Regions from separate parts of the Homo sapiens genome. Here all the other regions are linked to region 1. The links are contacts of gene promoters, found by promoter capture Hi-C in blood cells and fetal thymus (Javierre and others, 2016). All regions are on one chromosome and are shown on one strand. The core of a region is centred on a gene start or on the middle of the fragment in contact, and the rest is flanking DNA. Distances in the headings are between cores, read along the strand shown. Region 1 has its middle 3.9 kb from the start of ZNF77. Region 2 holds the start of GNA15 (G protein subunit alpha 15). Region 3 holds the start of GNA11 (G protein subunit alpha 11).

The links. Contacts are between HindIII fragments. The CHiCAGO score rates a contact against its expected background, and 5 or more counts as called.
Region 2: the fragment with the promoter of GNA15 here is called in contact with a fragment that was not itself captured in region 1 in 1 of 17 cell types (endothelial precursors); the score reaches 5.5 in endothelial precursors.
Region 3: a contact is called between the fragment with the promoter of GNA11 here and a fragment that was not itself captured in region 1, in 3 of 17 cell types (total B cells, M0 macrophages and naive B cells). The highest score is 6.2, in total B cells.

What each region holds. Positions count from the first base shown.
Region 1 is chr19:2,947,404-2,950,282 of GRCh38, forward strand. No RefSeq gene overlaps it. Among named protein-coding and RNA genes, the nearest start is that of ZNF77, 3.9 kb to the left of the region's middle. The HindIII fragment of the contact is 2,883 bases long and covers 1-2,840 here.
Region 2 is chr19:3,134,551-3,137,429 of GRCh38, forward strand. It overlaps GNA15 (G protein subunit alpha 15), which reads left to right and starts at 1,483. Exons shown (of 7, transcript NM_002068.4): 1 at 1,483-2,045. The coding sequence starts at 1,901. The HindIII fragment of the contact is 24,748 bases long and covers 1-2,879 here.
Region 3 is chr19:3,092,960-3,095,838 of GRCh38, forward strand. It overlaps GNA11 (G protein subunit alpha 11), which reads left to right and starts at 1,403. Exons shown (of 7, transcript NM_002067.5): 1 at 1,403-1,828. The coding sequence starts at 1,693. RefSeq lists silencers at 1,072-1,321, 1,342-1,461, 1,782-1,911 and enhancers at 1,208-2,195, 2,196-2,879. The HindIII fragment of the contact is 9,364 bases long and covers 1-2,879 here.

The DNA of each region.
Region 1 (2,879 bases), core at 149-2,648:
ACTACAAAGAAATTGGAAGTGATAGGAAACAGTGGAATAACTGTCAGAGAGGAAGCAGTGGGAACAAAAGACAGGAAAGAAAAACATGCCTATTATCAGAGTCCCTGAAGAAGTAAACAGTAGCACAGCTTTTCACCTTACATCATTAAGAAACACATAAATAGGCCGGGCGCGGTGGCTCACGCCTGTAATCCCAGCACTTTGGGATGCCAAGGTGGGCAGATCACCTGAGGTCCAAAGTCCGAGACCACCCTGACAAACATGGAGAAACCCCATCTCTACTAAAAATACAAAAATGAGCTGGACATGGTGGCAAATGCCTGGAACCCCCGCTAATCGGGAGGCTGAGGCAGGAGAATCACTTGAACCCAGGAGGTGGAGGTTGCAGTGAGCCGAGATCATGCCACTGCACTCCAGCCTGGGCAACAAGATCAAAACTCTGTCTCAAAAAAAAAAAAAAAAAAAGGAAAAGAAACACATAAATACTATAATAAATGTAGCAACGTACCTTGCAGAAGATCCAAAGGTTGCTTGTGGAATTGGGCAAGGGAATCTAAATTTCCAGAGTTAGTATGCAGTGGTGGAGAGAGGGTTGTCGGAAATCTAATGTTAAGTTTTAAAGCAGAGGAAACAGTGTGACTTGGTATTTGAGGTGTGTGCGCGCATTTTCTGTTTTCCTACCAGACTCTTCAGTTATGTGCAATTTCTTCTGTTCACTTAGTGTTTCTTAGGGTTGAAACTGAACATAAACAAATATGAAATTCGTGTTATACTCACATTACTCAACATATCAGGTAATTTGTGAAGACAGAGATGTTTCCTGATCAATTGTTCTAGCCGACTGACAGCCAATATCTACATAGAATTATTTCAAAGTCGCAGGGTGCGGTGGCTCACGTCTGTAATCCCAGCACTTTGGGAGGCCGAGTTGGGCGGATCACAAGGTCAGGAGATCAAGACCATCCTGGCTAACATGGTGAAACCCCGTCTCTACTAAAAATACAAAAAATCAGCTGGGCGTGGTGGCGAGTGCCTGTAGTCCCAGCTACTCGGAAGGCTGAGGCAGGAGAATGGCGTGAACCCAGGAGGCGGAGCTTGCGTTGAGCTGAGATCACGCCATTGTACTCTATCCTGGGCAACAGAGCAAAACTCTGTCTCAAAAAAAAAAAAAAAAAAAGAATTATTTCAAAGTCAATTGAGTGGCTGGGGGCAGTGGCTTACGCCTGTAATCCCAGCACTTTGGGAGGCCGAGGCAGGCGGGTCACGAGGTCAGGAGTTCAAGAGTAGCCTGGCCAAGATGGTGAAACCCCATCTCTACTAAAAATACAAAAATTAGCTGGGTGTGGTGGCGGGCACCTGTAGTCCCAGCTACTCGGGAGGGTGAGGCAGGAGAATCACTTGAACCCGGGAGGTGGAGGCTGCAGTGAGCCGAGATCACACCACTGCACTCCAGCCTGGGCGACAGCTCGAGACTCCGTCTCAAAAAAAAAAAAAAAAGTAAATTGAGGACACTGTAACACTCTGCTCTTAAACACCTCCCAAATGCTATTTTAGAGAAAAATCTGTATTTTTATCTAAAAGTCCACACTTCATATTCGCACTTTAGATAGTTAACAATCATTCCTTTATACCTAGCCCATAATCGTATTTCCTTCAATTATACCCCAAATGGTCTTTACAGCTGGTCCTCCGAAGATCCAACCCCAAACCAGGTATTGCATCTTCTTTTATTTTATAGTATTATATGGTCATGTTGAATTTTTCTTTTGAGGTGTAGTCTATGAATTTTTGTGTATGTATAGCGTTAACGGGTGAATTGCGTCCCCACAAATCCGTAAGGTGAAGGCCTAACCCACAGTACCTCAGAAGGTATTTGAAGATAGGCCTTTAAAGAGGCAATTCGATTAAAATGAGATTAAGGTGGGCTCAAATCCAAAAGACTGGCGTGCTATTCATTGCAGGGTGTTGAGCAGCACCCTAGACCTCCTCATCCACTGGATGCCAGTCGCCCCAACCCCATCCCCGGTTGTGACAACCAAGTCTGCAGACATTGTCCAGTGTCCCCTGGGCGTAAAATTTCTCCTCCCCTCTTTGATAATCACTGCTTTAGACTCTATTTGGTCTTAGAGTCTTTTCTCTGAAGTCCATCATTTTATCCGCCGTAACCCTGCTGTCTTCACTTAAGGGGTCCAAGACGTTTACAGGAGGGTGATAATGGTGATGATGAGCTGCCAATAATAATCCACACACAGCACTATTTGACAAATGCAGGTAATGTTATGTATTTTACAGACCTGGAAACTGAGGCACTTAGGGGCTTGGCAACTTGCCTAATATCACCCGAGAGCTGATTAAGGCTTGGGGCCAGGACTGGGACCCCAGGATGAAGCCCAGCTGAGCAGAAAACCTCTGTGCACAGGATGCAGCAATCAAGATAATAAAAATCAACTCCGACTGAGAAAGTATCTGCCTACACATTCATCAGGCTGGGAGGACAGACCCAGATGGTATCAGTTGGAAAATTAACAGAAAACAGTATTTTTGCCAAGGACACCTTTTTCTGAGCCATCAATGTCTTCTAGCTCGCTAAATGCCTTCCTTGCCCATTACAATCATACACAGTGATTGACATTTTATCAGTAAGAATAAACTTCCCTTTTCCGGCCGGAGGGTCTGATTTTCTTGGACACAGAGAATCCGTCTCCATTTCCAACCCAGGTGCAGGGCTCTGATAAGCGGTTTCCGGACATAACAATCTACAGCGGTCTTATCTTGTGGTTCCCAAGGAAACAGGTCCCGGCTGCACTTCGCAGCCCAGACCCGAGGGTGACCCCTTTACAAGCTTGCTCTTTGCCAAATGGAAACCACGCAGTATTTAC
Region 2 (2,879 bases), core at 233-2,732, 190 kb after region 1:
AGTAGCTGGGACTACTGGTGCGTGCCAACATGCCCAACTAATTTTTGTATTAGTAGAGATGGAGTTTCTCCATGTTGGCCAGGCTGGTCTCAAACTCCTGACTTCAAGTGATCCTCCTGCCTCGGCCTCCCAAAGTACTTTGATTACAGATGTGAGCTCCCGCACTCACCTGGCCAAATTTTTTATTCTTTTATTTTTTATTTTTTTTGAGATGGAGTCTCACTTCGTCGCCAGGCTGGAGTGCAGTGGCACGATCTCAGCTCACTGCCACCTCTGCCTCCCGGGTTCAAGCGATTCTCTTGCCTCAGCCTCCCAAGTAGGTGGGACTACAGGCGTGCACCACCACGCCCGGCTAATTTTTGTATTTTTAGTAGAGACGGGGTTTCGCCGTGTTGGCCAGGCTGGTCTCGATTTCTTGACTTTGTGATCTGCCCGCCTTGGCCTCCCAAAGTATAGGGATTACATGCGTGAGCCACCAGGCCCAGCCTAAAATTTATTTTATTATCTGTTCTTTAACTAGAACCTTAGGTAAGGAGGTCTGGGATCTGTGTCTCTTGGCTACCGTGCCTGGCACACAGTTGGCGCTCCATGAATGCACGCACAATGAAGGGATGGCCCTGCCTGGAATCTGCCTGGTAGGCGTCTAGACTCTGGGGCCCCGCAGGTGAGGGATAGGCTCCCGGCTCTGCCTTGTGCCAGCCCCACCGGTCACTCCCCTGCTCTATGCCTCAACCTCCTCATCAGTCAAACAGGGATGACAGTAGTAACTATACAGGGTGATGTGAGTGTAAAACCAGCTAATGTGAGCCAAAACCCGGCTAATTTTTGTATCTTTAGTAGAGACAGGGTTTCGCCATGTTGGCCAGGCTGGTTTCGAACTCCTGACCTCAGGCAAGCTGCCCACCTCTGCAGGGTGGATCACCTGAGGTCAGGGCAGAGTCGCTGGAAACAGTCCATGACACCTGGCCTGAGCTGTTTCTTAAAAATATATCAGAAGGGCCGAGCGTGGTGGTTTATGCCTGCAATCCCAGCACTTTGGGAGGCCGAGGCGGGTGGATCACCTGAGGTCAGGAGTTTGAGACCAGCCTGGCCAACGTGGTGGAACCCTTTCTCTACTAAAAATCCAAAGTTAGCCCGGCGTGGTGGTGGATGCCTGTAATCCCAGCTACTCGAGAGGCTGAGGCAGGAGAATTGCTTGAACCTGGGAGGCAGATGTTGCAGAGTCAAGATCCTGCCACTGCACTCCAGCCTGGGCAATAAGAGTGAAACTCTGTCTCAAAAAAAAAAAAAAAAATATATATATATATATATATATATATATATATATATATATATATATATACACATATATATATATACACACACATATATATATGATATATATATAATGTATCAGCAGTAGCACGGGTCTGACGGTTCCTGATTGGCTCCGAGGAGGGGGACAGCTCCGGGTGAAGCCTGAGGAGAATCCGCCCCTTCTCCAGAAGGAGGAAGAAGGGCCCTGCTGGTCACACAGGACCCAGTCTGCGGTGGGGGTTTTCCCGCCACCGCCCCGCCCTCCCTGGGGCCCCCACCTCACCCTCTCCTGGCACCCTTCACCGTCAACCTGTCGGGCCGGGTCTGAGCAGGTCTGGAGGTGGGCGGGGAGCCCTGGCCTCCCCACCTCCTCCCGTCCCCACCCTGTTCCCAGCACTCAAGCCTTGCCACCGCCGAGCCGGGCTTCCTGGGTGTTTCAGGCAAGGAAGTCTAGGTCCCTGGGGGGTGACCCCCAAGGAAAAGGCAGCCTCCCTGCGCACCCGGTTGCCCGGAGCCCTCTCCAGGGCCGGCTGGGCTGGGGGTTGCCCTGGCCAGCAGGGGCCCGGGGGCGATGCCACCCGGTGCCGACTGAGGCCACCGCACCATGGCCCGCTCGCTGACCTGGCGCTGCTGCCCCTGGTGCCTGACGGAGGATGAGAAGGCCGCCGCCCGGGTGGACCAGGAGATCAACAGGATCCTCTTGGAGCAGAAGAAGCAGGACCGCGGGGAGCTGAAGCTGCTGCTTTTGGGTGAGTCCAGGGTCGGTGGGCGGTGGGTGGTGGGCAGTGGGCGGTGGCCAGCCGGCAGGGGTGTCGGGGCAAGGAGGCGGATCAGGCTAGGTCAGACATTGGCATCGTGGAGCCGTCGCCTCCTCCCAGGGAATGGGGAGCCTGGAACCCATTTTCCAGATGAGAAAGACTGAGGTTCAGAGAAGCCAAGTTCCTTGTCCAACGTGCGACCAGCGGCCAGGTGCCCAGGCCTGTCCACTGTGTGGGGCATATACAATAGCAGACGTGGCTCTACCGGGCCCCTGCCGGGCAGGCCCAGCACGCCCTACCTGTCTGTGTCATGGCGAGGGAATGATGAGCTCAGGTGTGCAACCCGTTCTGGCCAGCCCACCCGTAAGGGAGGGGCCGGCTCCAGCCTCTCCTTCACCAGGACGCTCCCTCTCGCCTTTACCTCCCTGCCATGGCTGGAGAGGGCTTGTCTAGGGCTCCTTTGGGGGCTAGAAAGGATGGATTGATTGGTTCATTGGTTCATTCATTCATTATTCATTCATTTAAGATTTATTGGGTAGCTCCCAGGAACGAGGCAGCCAAACAGGGGAAGATATTTCTGTCTTCCTGGATCTCATTTCCTGTGAAGGAGCCAAGACATTTAGTCTGTAAACTCATAAGCAGATAAAATAATTCTGGCAACAAGAATTATCTAGGAGAAAACAAAACAGGGTGATGGCTTCCATGCGGAGGCTTCAGATGGGGGAGTCGACGTCAGTAACGGTTCAAGATTCTGAACTCTGGCTGGGTGCAGTGGCTCAAGCCTGTGATTTCAGCACTTTGGGAGGCCCAGGCGGGTGGGATCAC
Region 3 (2,879 bases), core at 153-2,652, 150 kb after region 1:
GGGAGGGTGAGGCAGGAGAATCACTAGAGCCTGTGAGGCAGAGGGTGCAATGAACCTAGATCACGCCCCTGCACTCCAGCCTGGGCGACAGAGCAAGACTCCATCTCAAAAAAAGAAGAAGAAAAAAAAGATATCCCTTGGGTAGGGTTAGCTTAACGGGCTTACAGCAGTGCCTGGTATCCTGTAGGCATTTCATGAATGCGTATACCTGGCCTGGAATGGTGCAGGCACTGCAGTAAGGCCTGATTGACACCTGATGGACAGCAGGCACTCCATTAATCTCTGGTCCGTGCCTGGCATATAGAATGTGTCCCATTAATGCCTGATACACAGTAGGTGTCCCATTAACGCTTTTTAATTTTTTTTTTTGAGACAGAGTCTCGCTCTGTCGCCCAGGCTGGAGTGCAGTGGCATGATCTCAGCTCACTGCAAGTTCCGTCTCCCGGGTTCACGCCATTCTCCTGCCTCAGCCTCCCGAGTAGCTGGGACTACAGGCGCCCGCCACCACGCCCGGCTAATTTTTTGTATTTTTAGTAGAGACGGGGTTTCACCGTGTCAGCCAGGATAGTCTCGATCTCCTGACCTCGTGATCCACCCGCCTCGGCCTCCCAAAGTGCTGGGATTACAGGCGTGAGCCACCGCGCCCGGCCCTCTTTTTTTTTTTTTTTCTTTGGAGACGGAGTTTCGTTCTTGTTGCCCAGGCTGGAGTGCAATGGCGTGATCTCGGCTCACTGCAACCTCCGCCTCCTGGGTTCAAGTGATTCTCCTGCCTCAGCCTCCCGAGTAGCTGGGATTACGGGCGTGCACCACCACGCCGGGCTAATTTTGTAGTTTTAGTAGAGACGGCGTTTCTCCCTGTTGGTCAGGCTGGTCTCGAACTCCAGACCTCAGGTGATCCGCCCGCCTCGGCCTTCCAAAGTGCTGGGATTACAGGCGTGAGCCACCGCGCCCGACCTCCATTAACGCTTTTTAATGGATGAGTGAAGGTTCCTGTCAGGCAATGTCAGGGCGCTTCCCGGGGGCAGCGACTGCTGCCCAGGCACCTGGAGACCCAGAGAGCGCAGCGGCCGCGTGCGCGCCTCCGCCACCGCGCCTGGGCCGAGCCGAGCGGGACCGAGCGGGGCCGAACGGAGCCGAGCGGAGCCGAGCCTGGCCGGGCCGAGTCCGCCACATTCCCACAATCCCGGGCGGCCCCGCCCCGGCTCCCGGCTGCGCGTCCCCCTTCCCACGTCGGCGCAACCAAACCCGCGGGCCCCCCGCCCTCGCCCCGCCCCGCCCCTTTCGCGCCCGCCGACGCCCCGCCCAGGCCGCTAGTCCCGCCCCCATGGTGGGCGCGCTTGGCCGCCGGCCCCTCCCATTGGCCGCACCGTCTGCCCGTCGCGGGCTGCGCTCCCAGCCTGCTAGGTTGTCCGGCGCTGTCGCTCGGTTGCGGCGGCTGCGGTTGGCGGTGGCTGCGGCGGCGGCGCGGGCTGAGTGCGGCCGCGCGGGAGTCCGCGGCTGGCGCGGCCCGAGCGGGGACCCGGCGGCTCGCCAGGCGGCGGCCGAGGCGGGGCGGGCCGGCCCGGGGCCGAGGGCCGGTGGCCGAGGCCGGAGGGCCGCGGCGGGCGGCGGCCGAGGCGGCTCCGGCCAGGGCCGGGCCGGGGGCCGGGGGGCGGCGGCGGGCAGGCGGCCGCGTCGGCCGGGGCCGGGACGATGACTCTGGAGTCCATGATGGCGTGTTGCCTGAGCGATGAGGTGAAGGAGTCCAAGCGGATCAACGCCGAGATCGAGAAGCAGCTGCGGCGGGACAAGCGCGACGCCCGGCGCGAGCTCAAGCTGCTGCTGCTCGGTGAGTGCGGCCCCCGGGCCTGCCGGCTGCGGGCCCTGCCCTGCCTGTGCCTGCCCTGCCTGTCCGGGTCGGGCCGGGACCCTCCGGGGTCAGCCCTGCCTGTGCCGTCCGGGTCGCGAGACCCTCCGGGGTCAGCCCTGCCTGTGCCTTCCCTGCCTGTCCGGGTCGCGGGACCCTCGAGTGTCAGCCCTGCCTGTGCCTTCACTGCCTGTCCGGGTCGGGGCGGGGCCCTCCGGGATCAGCCCTGCCTGTGTCGTCTGGGTCGGCTCGGGACCCTCTGGGGTCAGCCCTGCCTTTGCTGTCTAGGTCGGCACCTGGGACCCTCCGGGGTCAGCTGCGGGCCCCTGATTTCTTTGGGGTCAGCCCCTGCCTTAACTGTTCATGTTGGCACCTGGGACTCTCCGGTGTCAGCCTGTGTCTGTCCTGTCTGGATCAGGCCCCCGATCACTCCTAGGTCAGCTCCCAGCTTCTGCTGTCTACATTGGGCCTCCAGGACTCTTCAGGATTTGCCCTCTGTTCCTTCTCAAGGGACCAGTCCCTCCCTGCACAGGGACCTTCTGACCTTACCCCACCGGAGTACCCACCCCTCGCTACCCCTTCAGGGCCAGACCTTTGGGCTGTAACCCACAGGGCACACTCACCCCTCACTGCTCAGGGCCCCGCGTTGACCCTTCCCTCCAGGCAGAGCCCTGTACACTCCATGCAGGCCCTGTACCCTCCATGCAGGCCCTGTACACCCCCCCATCCCCCCGAAGACTCCTCCGTGTCCCCTATCCCCACATTCCCTTCAGGGCCATTCTCCTGCCTTCCTGTTCCGGGAAACCCCGTACTCCTCTTGGCTGGAATGCACCCTGTGGGAAAAAGACAGTCTTTCCTCTCCTCAGGGTTCCGCTCAGCTGAGGGTGGGGCGGTTGACACCTGAGGGAGCCTTTGCTTGTTGTCCCAAGCAGCTATCTCGGCAGCCTCCCCCGCCCCCTTCCTTAGAGTCCTGGTGGGAGCCACGCTGAGTCCTCGTTGAGAGCAGCCCCCCACCTGCCGGCTCCTCCCCACC